3 separate regions of the Homo sapiens genome follow, and regions 1 and 3 are each linked to region 2. Evidence: promoter capture Hi-C in human tissues and cell types (Jung and others, 2019). All regions are on one chromosome and are shown on one strand. Each heading gives the region's core, a stretch centred on a gene start or on the middle of the fragment in contact. The rest is flanking DNA. Distances are from core to core; before and after follow the strand shown.

Region 1 (3,460 bases), core at 644-3,143, 320 kb after region 2:
GATCTGCAGGGAAGAGAGGGCCCTGTGCACACAAAGAAATTTCAGGCCAGGCACAATGGCTCAACTTGAGTCCTGGTGTTTGAATAGCATGGGCAACACAGCAAGGTCTCGTCTCTCAAAAAACAACAAAAAAAAGCCAGGTGTGGTGGCTGTGGTTTGTGGTTCAAGCTACTCAGGAGGCTGAGGCAAGAGGATCACTTGAGCCCAGGAGGTAGAGGCTGCAGTGAGCTGTGATTGCGCCACTGCACTCCAGCTTTGGTGAAAGAATGAGATCTTGTCTCAAAAATAAATAAACAAATAATAAAGAAATTTCACAAGGCTGTCACAATTGACACGAAACCAAATGCAATGTGAGAGCCTTGGTTGGATTTTGAATGGAAACTAATAACAGCTATAGGAGACCCTTTGGTACAATTAGGGGGAAATCTGAATATGGATTATGAAATGCATTGTATATGAGGCAATGCGTATAGGGGAATGTATTGTATTGAAGTTAAATTTCCAGTATATGATCATTGCACCATGGTTTTGCAGAAGAAACTAGTTCTTCTAGCTTGTCTGCAAGTAACTCAAAGTGTGTCTGTAAGTAACTCAAACACAAAATTTAAATTAAAAATATACGTGGAGAGATAAGGTAAAGTGGTAAGAAAACTGGATTAAAAACGTATCGCTAACTAGAGAATCTAGATGAAGTGTCTATGGGTGCTCACTGCATAATTCTTATGACTTCTCTTTAGGTTAGAAAATAGTCAAAAATAAAGTAGAATTGGGGAGTTTGGTTAGAAGCTTATATGTGTAGGGTCTCCCAGTTTCTCCCACTTTCTTTCTGAGACACAGAGAGCACCTTGGCCACTCTGTGATCTGGCTGGCTGCATGCTTCCGCTGTGGGCTGGAACCTGAGCTGGGGCCCTGAACATTCCCAGGCACTGATAAACTTGCTTATGTTGTTGTCCAAAACACTTCAAGATCAAACATCTTGCTAAACATGTAGCAACTGACACCTTCCCCACGCCCCTCTCCAAGGGCTCCTCTCCGGGGGGCACCCATTTCCCTGAAGGCCACCTGAGGCCTGTGACAGCCCTATGTATGTAAGCGCCCTAATGCATGCTTTGCACTGGTCACCCTGGCGTTTGGTGCTTCTTTCTTTGGAATCCCATCCAGGGCTGGTCTGGGGTACCAGACCAGGGAACAAGGGAACAGGGGAACAAGGGTACCAGACAAGGGAACATCCTTGCCGCAACCCTAGCTGTGGGTTCAGCTGAGAGGATGCAATTTCTGACAAGATGACCATAAGTTGGTCACCCTTTCAGTTGGGTGGCTGGTGCTTATTTGAGGCTTCAGTGTGATATTCATTCTAACATTCCATAGAACAGTTTTTTAAAGGCTGAACATCTGGGCTGGGCACGGTGGCTCATGCCTGTAATCCCAGCACTTTGGGAGGCCGAGGTGGGCGGATCACGAGGTCAGGAGATCGAGACCATCCTGGCTAACACGGTGAAACCCCATCTCTACTAAATATACAAAAAATTAGCCAGGCGTGGTGGCGGGTGCCTGTAGTCCCAGCTACTCGGGAGGCTGAGGCAGGAGATTGGCGTGAACCCGGGAGGCGGAGCTTGCAGTGAGCCAAGATCGCGCCACTGCACTCCAGCTTGGGCGACAGAGCAAGACTCCGTCTCAAAAAAAAAAAAAAAAAAAGGCTGCACATCTGAAAAGAGATCTAAACGTGCATTTTTATAATAAGGGGGCTCTCCTTCAGCATCAGTTCAAAAGTTCAAAGGGGAGGGTGTTACTGAATGTCTCTACAGGAGTCACATGAGTTATTCACGGGAATAACACATTAGGGAACATTTTTGAGGTTTTTTTTTTTTTTTTTGGAGATGGTATTTCACTCTGTCACACAGGCTGGAGTGCAGTGGCGCGATCTCGGCTCACTACAGCCTCTGCCCTCTGGGTTCAAGCAATTCTCCTGCCTCAGCCTCCCAAGTAGCTGGGATTACAAGCACACGCCACCATGCCTGGCTAATTTTTTTGTATTTTTAGTAGAGGTGGGATTTCACTGTGTTGTCCAGGCTGGTCTCGACCTCCTGAGCTCAGGCAATCCACCTGCCTCAGTCTCCCAAAGTGCTAGGATTACAGGTGTGAGCCACCGTGCCCGGCCACATTTTTGAGTTTTAAACTTTTAGAAAACATGATGTAAAGTTCTGTGATGACAGAGGGGCAATTTTTCTCTTTGTTCTCTACTCTGTGGATGTAAAAATCCATTCCTGTATATTTGTTAGGCTATAAATGTACCATTTCCAGGACGGTAATACAACCTAACAGGGACAAACCTGTAGTCCCAAAACAATGGATTTCTTAGCATCCTTGCAGCAAGAGTGATCACTTACCTGAGGAACCTGGTGTCCTCTTCAAACAAAGGTAGAGGAAGGGTTTGTTTGTTTGTTTGTTTGTTTGTTTTTTGAGACGGAGTCTAGCTCTGTCTCCCAGGCTGGAGTGCAGTGGTGCGATCTCTGCTCACTGCAAGCTTCGCCTCCTGGGCTCACGCCATTCTGCCTCAGCCTCCCGAGTAGCTGGGACTACAGGCGCCCGCCACCATTCCCGGCTAATTTTTTGTATTTTAGTAGAGGGGTTTCACCGTGTTAGCCAGGATGGTCTCGATCTCCTGACCTCATGATCCACCCGCCTCAGCCTTCCAAAGTGCTGGGATTACAGGCATGAGCCACTGCGCCTGGCCACATAGAGGCAGGGTTCTTACAGGATCTGGAGGAGGGTGGAGGTTAGGTACAATATAAATGAATCAGTGTTGTGGATAGGCGTGAAGCAAGCAGGATTATGTGTGTAAAGCTATAAAGGGGTTAACATCAGAAGCCGACCCAGGGTCCTGTTCCCTTAGAAACTACAAAGTTAAAATAAATGTAGGATGTTGTGCTTAAAAAGCTCCTTTGTTTGTTTGTTTGTTTGTTTGTTTGTTTTTGAGACCGAGTCTTGCTCTGTTGCCCAGGCTGGAGTGCAGTGGTGCCATCTCAGCTCACTACCAGCTCTGCCTCCTGGGTTCCCACCATTCTCCTGCCTCAGCCTCCTGAGTAGCTGGGACTACAGGCGCCCGCCACCACACCCGGCTAATTTTTTGTATTTTTAGTAGAGAAGGGGTTTCACCGTGTTAGCCGGAATGGTCTTGATCTCCTGACCTCGTGATCCGCCCACGTCAGCCTCCCAAAGTTAAAAAGCTCTTTTCTAAAAAAAAAAAAAAAAAAAAAAAAAGAAAGAAAGAAGAGAAAAATCCTGTTTCAGCTGGAAATTGAGGCTGCTTCTTTGTGTCAAAGAATGTTCCAGTCTCACTAACATGGTTTCAAACAGCAAAGTTTCTGACAGTCCGTGATTTTACAGAACAAGGTTCTCTAAAATCTATAGTTTACATTTTCTATAGGTTGACAATCACAGAGGAGGACTGTGGCTAAGA
Region 2 (3,750 bases), core at 393-2,892:
GGGAGCCAGGAGGTCCCCAGCGCTTTATTGCAGGGCTCGAACCTGGGTATAGGGGAGCAAAAAAGAAACTAGAAATGGCCACAGGCAGCGCGGTACTCTAAGATGGGAACGCCCCCTGGGAAATGGGGAGGGGGAGGTCCCAGGTGCGGGCGAGTCCAGGCTGTGAGGAGGCAGGAAAACCTCCCAGAACAAGACCGTCCCCAAAGAAACACTTTGACCCCCATTCTGATCACAGGTTTTAAAATATTCACATGACATGGGCACGCTGGATCAAAACCGAGGCACAGACACTCGCTTGGGCCTCAACTCCCATCTGAACCCCCCAAGGAGCGCCCCACCCCAGCTGTCTCTGCCCATGAGCCCCTGATTCCCGCCCCGCTCCCCCAGGGCACCCGGAGAGGCCGTGCGCGCGCAGGGTGGACCCTGGCCCTGAAACCCTGGGAGCTTCTCAGCCAGCGGCCATCCCCTCGGAGATCAAGGCCGACTTCTAAAAGCAAAAGGGAGCCTCTGGACTTGGCTGACTTGCTGGCATGGAATCATTTCCAGAATATTTTTACTCCATTACAGCACGGGAGGTGAGAAAGAGACACGACTCCAAGAACCCGCAGGTCTCTGACGGGAGGCATTCTCGGGGCGGCTCATATAGCCCGGGCGCCCACCTCCGAACCCCACCTCGATCGCGGGGTCTCCGGGAAGGTCACGCGTAGGACCCGTGCCGCGCGCCAGAGTGCTTCCGCACGCTCCCTCCCGAGCCCCCTAGTGCAAACCAGTCAGAGGGGGGCCGAGGGCTCCTCAAAGTTTCCCGGAGCGCCCCCCAGGACGAAGGTTAGCCAGGAGCAAAGTTCCTTGTGGTGGTAGCCGGAGACATGGCAGGAAAAGAAAAGCTCGCAGTCAGCATTTCCTCCGATGTCTCACCAAGGGAGGGAAAAAAATAAAACGAGAGGAAGAAAACACCCTCCCGCTCCACCTTCCCTGTTGCTGCACAACCTCGTGCTAGCTCCGGGCCGGGCTAGTGGCGAGGCGCGGCCTGCGGGGAACTGGGGCCGGGCCCGGGAGGGACCATGCGCCCGCGGCCGCGCACTTACCTCGGTCAGTGGCCCGGGCGCGGCGCGCTCGGCGTCCTCCAAGCTCCGGGCGGCCGTTCCTGGCCCCGGCAGCTGCCGCGCTGGCTGCATCGCCGCCGCTGCCGCCACCGCCTCAGGGCAGCTCCCGGGGGCGCTCCATGCCGAGGGGCGCGTCTTCTCTGCAAAGCGGATCGCCCTGGTCCAGCCACGGGTCGGGGGCGCGCGCCTGGACGGCGCCCCCGGCCGCTGGGCGCTCGCTTGGGCCGGGGCGGCTGGCGTCGGTCCCTCGGTCCGGCTGTGAGCACGGCCGGCCCACCCCCTCCCCCGCCGGCTGTTATCTGATCTCGGGCAGGGCCCGGCGCGCTCCCCTACGCCCCGGCGCCCCGCACCTCCTCGCAGGCTCTGACCGCGCCAGTCCCCCTCCCCCGGCTACTGTTCCCAGGGAGGCGGCAGCAGTGGCGGTGTGGCCGGGAGAAGACGGGGAGCGAGGAATGGAGGGCGAGGAGGCGGCGGGAGGCAGAGGCTCGGCGCGCACCCAGCTCCGCGCCTCGCTCCACCGGAGCTCAGCTCGGCAACTCCTCTAACTCTCCGCGGAGAGCACGCCCGCCCCGCGCCGCGCCGCGCCGCGCAGCCGCTGCACCAGCCTACCACGGCTCCGGCCTGGCCCCGAGCCCCTCCTAGTCCCGGGCCGCCCCCTACACACACACCGCCAGCCACTTGCGCACTGGGACGCGCGCGCGCACACACACATATATATATACACACACACACACACACACACACACACACACACAGGCACGACTTCCCGGGGACATGCGCGCACACACACATACACACACATGCAGGCACGTCCGCCGGGGACACGCGCGCACGCACAGGTGCATGGCGAGCACACACACAGGCATAAACATGCAGGATACATGCCCCCACATGCATGATGTTCGCAGGGGCACATGTGCACACTCGCTCATATGTGCACATGCAGGATGGCATCTGCACGTGTGCATACGCACACACAGGTCTAAGCTTGTGCATTCCCACAGAGCCCTTTTCCCCTGCACACCAGGCACGCACCCTCTACACACACCATCCCACCCTAATAGCATTTTTCTCCTCTCCATCTTGAGCTGCTTGGCTTCTCCCATCTCCTGCCTTCTCTGTGCTCCTCCCTGGACCTCTCTCTGCCGACCGGATCCCCATGTGACCCCCTTCTCTTTCGAGCCCCTGTCTCTGGAGGCTCAGGCTTTCTTCCCAACCTGTCCCCAAATGCCCTGCCCTCCCAGCTTTCTGAGGCCTATTGTCTGGGCCTCATATCTCTGAGCCTCCCGCAGGGGCCAAGTCTTTCATCCTGGCAGACAGACCTGCTCGCCTGGACACTGACCCAGGGGAACTCCATTTTGTCACCAGTCTGACCCCCAGCTCGGCCCTAGGGCCTCAGAATTGGGCCGAGGAGGCCAGTCTGTGCCCAGAGCATGAGCCTCAAAGGGCTCCTTGGCCCCCTTGGCCTCCAGCTTCCCCTTTAATGTGAAATATAATTATGTGTCTGCACAGCAGGGAGACTGGCTGCAGGATTCTAACCGAGGAGGACGGCTCTCTGGCCCGCACCCAGATTGCTGGCGGCTCAGAGCAGAGTGATCTGCAGGCCCCACCAGCCCTAGGATCCTGGCCCCAGGCAGCTGGTGGGTGAAATCCAGCCCAGCACTCACCGACATCAGTCTGCCCTGGGTTTGAATCCCACCTCAACTGACTAGCTGTGGGACAGGTCACTTCACCACTCAGTGCCTCTGTTTCCCTGTTGTCAGTAGAAATCACTACACTCATGGGGCTGTAGCAAGGATTAAATGAGATGAGTCTACCTAAAGTGCTTAGCACTTGACTTGGCTGGTAAAACAGCCAGGCGGAGCACTCAATATGTTCTGAGCTCTGTGCTATGGACCCAGCTAGAATTATTTCATTACCACTGCGGCCATCTGTGGTGGATAAGCTCATTGGCTCCATTTTACAGATGAAGGAACTGAGGCACAGAGGGGTGGTCACTTGCTTAATTACAGAACTACCAGATGGTGGAGCCAGTACGCAGAATCAGGTGTGTCCTCAACTTAGGGCTGCAGTGGAGAAAGAAGGGGCATCGCAGAAGTCTGCAGCCCCCACCCTGCCCTGCCTGGCACACTGTGTCCTGGTTTCCTCCTCCTCCTGGGAGAAACAGCCTCCCAGGGGACCAAAAGCTCTCAGGAAACTTCCTTCTTCTCCCTCCGAGTGACCAAGGAGGGAAATGACTCAGCTCCCCACCTGCCCCTGCTCCATTTCCCAGATGGGGAAGCCCAAGCCAGCTGCGGAAGAAGCCTCAAACCAGCTCCCACCCTCAGAGACCACTCAGCTGTCCCAAGAGGAATGGGGCCTGAGACATCCCTCCCTCGAGGCCTTACTCTGGTGGCCTAGAAAGGGGCAAGGGAATGGACGGGAACACCTCAGGGCTCCTCTGGGTCTAAGATTCTGACAGCTCCTGGGACAAGTGGCTGTGCCCAGGGCATCCTCACGCCTGGAACACCACCCCCCCCTTCCCACACACACACACACAGGGCCCCTGCCCAGGGGCTCGACACCCAAGATGACTACTGTGAGTCAGGCCAGGTCTCCGCCCCTCCCTATCCCCACTCCCAGAGCCATTATCAGACCCATTTCACAA
Region 3 (3,610 bases), core at 919-3,418, 340 kb after region 2:
CAGGTGGCCTAGATGGCACGGAGAAGCTGGACAAAGGGATGGTCATGGGACAGAGCGGGATGTCACTCAGTTTCATCATGTTTCTCAGAACGGCGGGCAGTTTAAAGCTTATGAATTGTTTATTTCTGGCATTTCCATGTTACTATTTTCAGACTGAGGTTGACTGTGGGTAACTGAAACCACAGCAAGCGGAACTGTAGGTAAGGGAGGACTGCTGTGATATTTTATATTTCATACGTAATTTCCTTCTGGTTTTGGTAGTTGGGATACACTTTTTAGGTAGGCCTGGCAAGTAAGTCTCCTGACCTGTCCAAGGACATCACCGGCAACTGCTGGGTCCCAGCCTTGAAATGAGGTCAGTCTGAGGTCTTGCCTTTGCTGAATGAAATTACCCCTTCTGTAAATTGAAAGGTCTGGAGTCGCTGTACCCTTAGATTGATTTTGGCTCCGAGATTGAGGGGCCTGAGTCTGGAAGCTGAGGTTTTTGAGGTTGGGGAACTTAATTTGAGAAGATTATCTAATTTTGGCAAAGTCTTTAGCTTTTTAGTGCCGTATTTTTTTTTTCATATAAAGGATAGAATATTTAGGCCGGGCACGGTGGCTCATGCCTGTAATCCCAGCACTTTGGGAGGCTGAGGTGGGTGGATCACTTGAGGTCAGTAGTTCAAGACCATCCTGGCCAACATGGTGAAACCTCATCTGTACTAAAATACAAAAAGTTAGCCGAGCATGGTGGCACGCGCCCGTAGTCCCAGATACTCGGGAGGCTGAGGCAGGGGAATCACTTGAACCCGGGAGGCGGAGGTTGCAGTTAGCGGAGATTACGCCACTGCACTCCAGCCTGGTGACAGAGCAAGACTCCTTCTCAAAAAAAAAAAAAATTATACCTGTCCCTTCACTTATGTCAGTGTTTGAGTCCTTGAAAAAGTCACTGAAGAGAATGCACAAGAATTAAACTTACCTTCCTAAGATGCTCAGGTTTTAGACCAGTAGGAAGTCATGGGTAATGTGTGAAAAGTGCACTAGCTCTTAAGGTGGTGTGTCATGTTTGCACACTTTTAAAAGCTGGACTCAAAATTCAGTGTACTGTTGAGTCATCCCATAGGGTAAGTCTGGTTGACTACAAGGGCTCTGCCCCTCTTGCTCCTCCGCATCCTTCTTGGGGTGGGAGGTAGTGTGAGTGGGGAGATAAGAGGACAGGATATTCAGAGGAATATTCTTAATATCGGGACCAAATTAATGAATTTGGCAGGGTGTTTCTGTACTGCATAAGATCAACAACAATTAAATAATTGATCCTCTTCTAATTCCTGTCACATACAAATCCTAGTTATGTTTCAGGATTTGCTTGCAGTCTACTGAATCTACTTGAATTAATTTATAGGAGAAAAGGATTTAATTCAGAAATCATTGCAAGGGCTATGGAGTAGTAGATTCTAGGTTGAATTTCTAGGAAAACCCGCCAGCCTGGGGAATCCTGCCTCTGCAGGAGCCACCACACCAGAAAGTGGTGTGCTGGGCTGCTTAAACAGTGCCACCCCTCCACGGTCCATGTCAGCCTGTGGATGCCCCCACTGGGCCTCTCTCCTTAGCTTACTCACCAACCGCATCGTCTGCAAATGTGTCTCAAGATATGTTTGGAACATGAGCTGCAAGGGTGCCTGGGGAATGCATTTTCAACTTTTTTTTTTTTTTTTTTTTTTTTTTTTTTTGAGACAGGGTCTGGTTCTGTTGCTCAGGCTAGAGGGCAGTGGTGCGATCTTGGCTCACTGCAGCCTTGACCTCCTGGGCTCAAACCATCCTGAGTAACTGGGACTACAGGTGTGTGCCACCATGCCCAGCTAATTTTTGCATTTTTTGTAGAGATGAGGTTTCACCATTTGGCCCAGGCTGGTCTTGAACTCCTGGCCTCAAGCTGTCCTCCCACCTCGGCCTCCCAAAGTGCTGCATTCCTGGCGTGAGCCAACACGCCTGGCTGTGTTTTCTACTTTACAGTGCTGTGAAAGGAGATAGAATAAAAATGAATGTGAACCCCATGTGAGTGACCGGGCCTGCTGTAACAAACCACCACAAACCGATTAACTTAGAACAACAGAAATTTCATCTCAAATTATGAGACTGGACGTCCAAAATAAAGTGTTTGCAGGGTAGCCACTCCAGAGGCTATTCCTGGCCTCCTCCAGACACTGGAAGACATGTGCTACCTTACTCCTGTGTCTGCCTCTGTTACATTTAAATCTGATACAGTATTATCAATGGACGTGCTGTTCCACAGTGTAGATTGGGGAAAAATAATAATGCAGTGTTGGCATTGTTTAACAACAGGATACATTCTGAGAAATGCATTGTTAGGCGATTTTGTCTTTGTGTGAACATCATGGAGTGACTTAACACAAAGCTAGATGGTACAGCCTGCTGCACACCCAGGCTGTGTGAGATGGAGCCTGTTGCTCCTAGGCAGCAAACCTGTACAGCACGTACCGTACTGAACACTGTAGGCAGTTGAAAGACGGTTGTAAGCATTTGTGTTTCTATAGCTAAACATAGAGAAGGTTACAGTAAAAATATGATACTATAATCTTCTGGGACCGCCATTGTACATGCAGCCTGTCATTCACTGAAACATTGCTATGTGGTGTGTGACTATACCAGACATAAGATTGAGGTTTTATCAGTATGTCAGAGACAGCTGTTTTCTGTATTTAGCGCCAGTTGTCTTGTTGGTTGGCTGCTTGAATAATGTTGGAGAAGCTGTCTCTTAGCTGTGTTGGCTCCATAAGGCCTGTAAAATGTGTCTTCCCTGGTGATTGGTAAACCCGTGCAGGGGAGCATCCTAGGTTGTGTAGTAGAGATAGACCATAATGGAGTGTGTAGCACAGTCCTAGGTTGTGTAGTAGAGATAGACTATAATGGAGTGTGTAGCACAGTCCTAGGTTGTGTAGTAGAGAGAGACTATAATGGAGTGTGTAGCACAGTCCTAGGTTGTGTAGTAGAGAGAGACTATAATGGAGTGTGTAGCACAGTCCTAGGTTGTGTAGTAGAGAGAGACTATAATGGAGTGTGTAGCACAGTCCTAGGTTGTGTAGTAGAGATAGACTATAATGGAGTGTGTAGCATAGTCCTAGGTTGTGTAGTAGAGAGAGACTATAATGGAGTGTGTAGCACAGTCCTAGGTTGTGTAGTAGAGATAGACTATAATGGAGTGTGTAGCACAGCAGGAGCTTGTTGTGTTTAGTTGTTTTGTTCAGTGTTAGGTTTCTGAGATTCATCCACGCTGCTGAGTATATCATAAGTTCCTTTTCATTGCTGTGTACTTTACTCAATTAACTGTAGTATAGTTTATTCTTTTTACAAGTCATGAACATTTGTATTTTCAGCTCTGCGGTGTTGCAAGTAATAATGCTACAAAAGTCCTTGTACGTGTCTTTGGTTGCGTATAAACCTATGAATTGAAGCGTTAGGCTGTAGGGTACATGTGTTCAATTTAATAGTTGTCTTCTATCCATTTATTTGGAAAATAAGAAACCTACAACAAATAGCAAGAATGCTAAAATGAATATTGTATACATTTATATGGATTCATCAATTGTTAGCTTCTTGCTAACTGGTT

What was found. Contacts are between HindIII fragments. The study calls those that stand out against the background at their distance.
Region 1: a fragment that was not itself captured here is called in contact with the fragment with the promoter of KCNJ12 in region 2 in 1 of the 25 tissues and cell types used here (spleen).
Region 3: a fragment that was not itself captured here is called in contact with the fragment with the promoter of KCNJ12 in region 2 in 2 of the 25 tissues and cell types used here (dorsolateral prefrontal cortex and mesendoderm cells).

Annotation. Positions count from the first base shown.
Region 1 is chr17:21,055,020-21,058,479 of GRCh38, reverse strand. No RefSeq gene overlaps it. Among named protein-coding and RNA genes, the nearest start is that of USP22, 14 kb to the right of the region's middle. The HindIII fragment of the contact is 4,660 bases long and covers 1-3,460 here.
Region 2 is chr17:21,374,249-21,377,998 of GRCh38, reverse strand. KCNJ12 (potassium inwardly rectifying channel subfamily J member 12) reads right to left here and starts at 1,642. Exons shown (of 3, transcript NM_021012.5): 1 at 1,086-1,642. The HindIII fragment of the contact is 9,762 bases long and covers 1-3,750 here.
Region 3 is chr17:21,031,025-21,034,634 of GRCh38, reverse strand. The region is part of intron 1 of USP22 (ubiquitin specific peptidase 22); the gene reads left to right. Among named protein-coding and RNA genes, the nearest start is that of USP22, 10 kb to the left of the region's middle. RefSeq lists a silencer at 91-210 and an enhancer at 232-733. The HindIII fragment of the contact is 5,012 bases long and covers 1-3,610 here.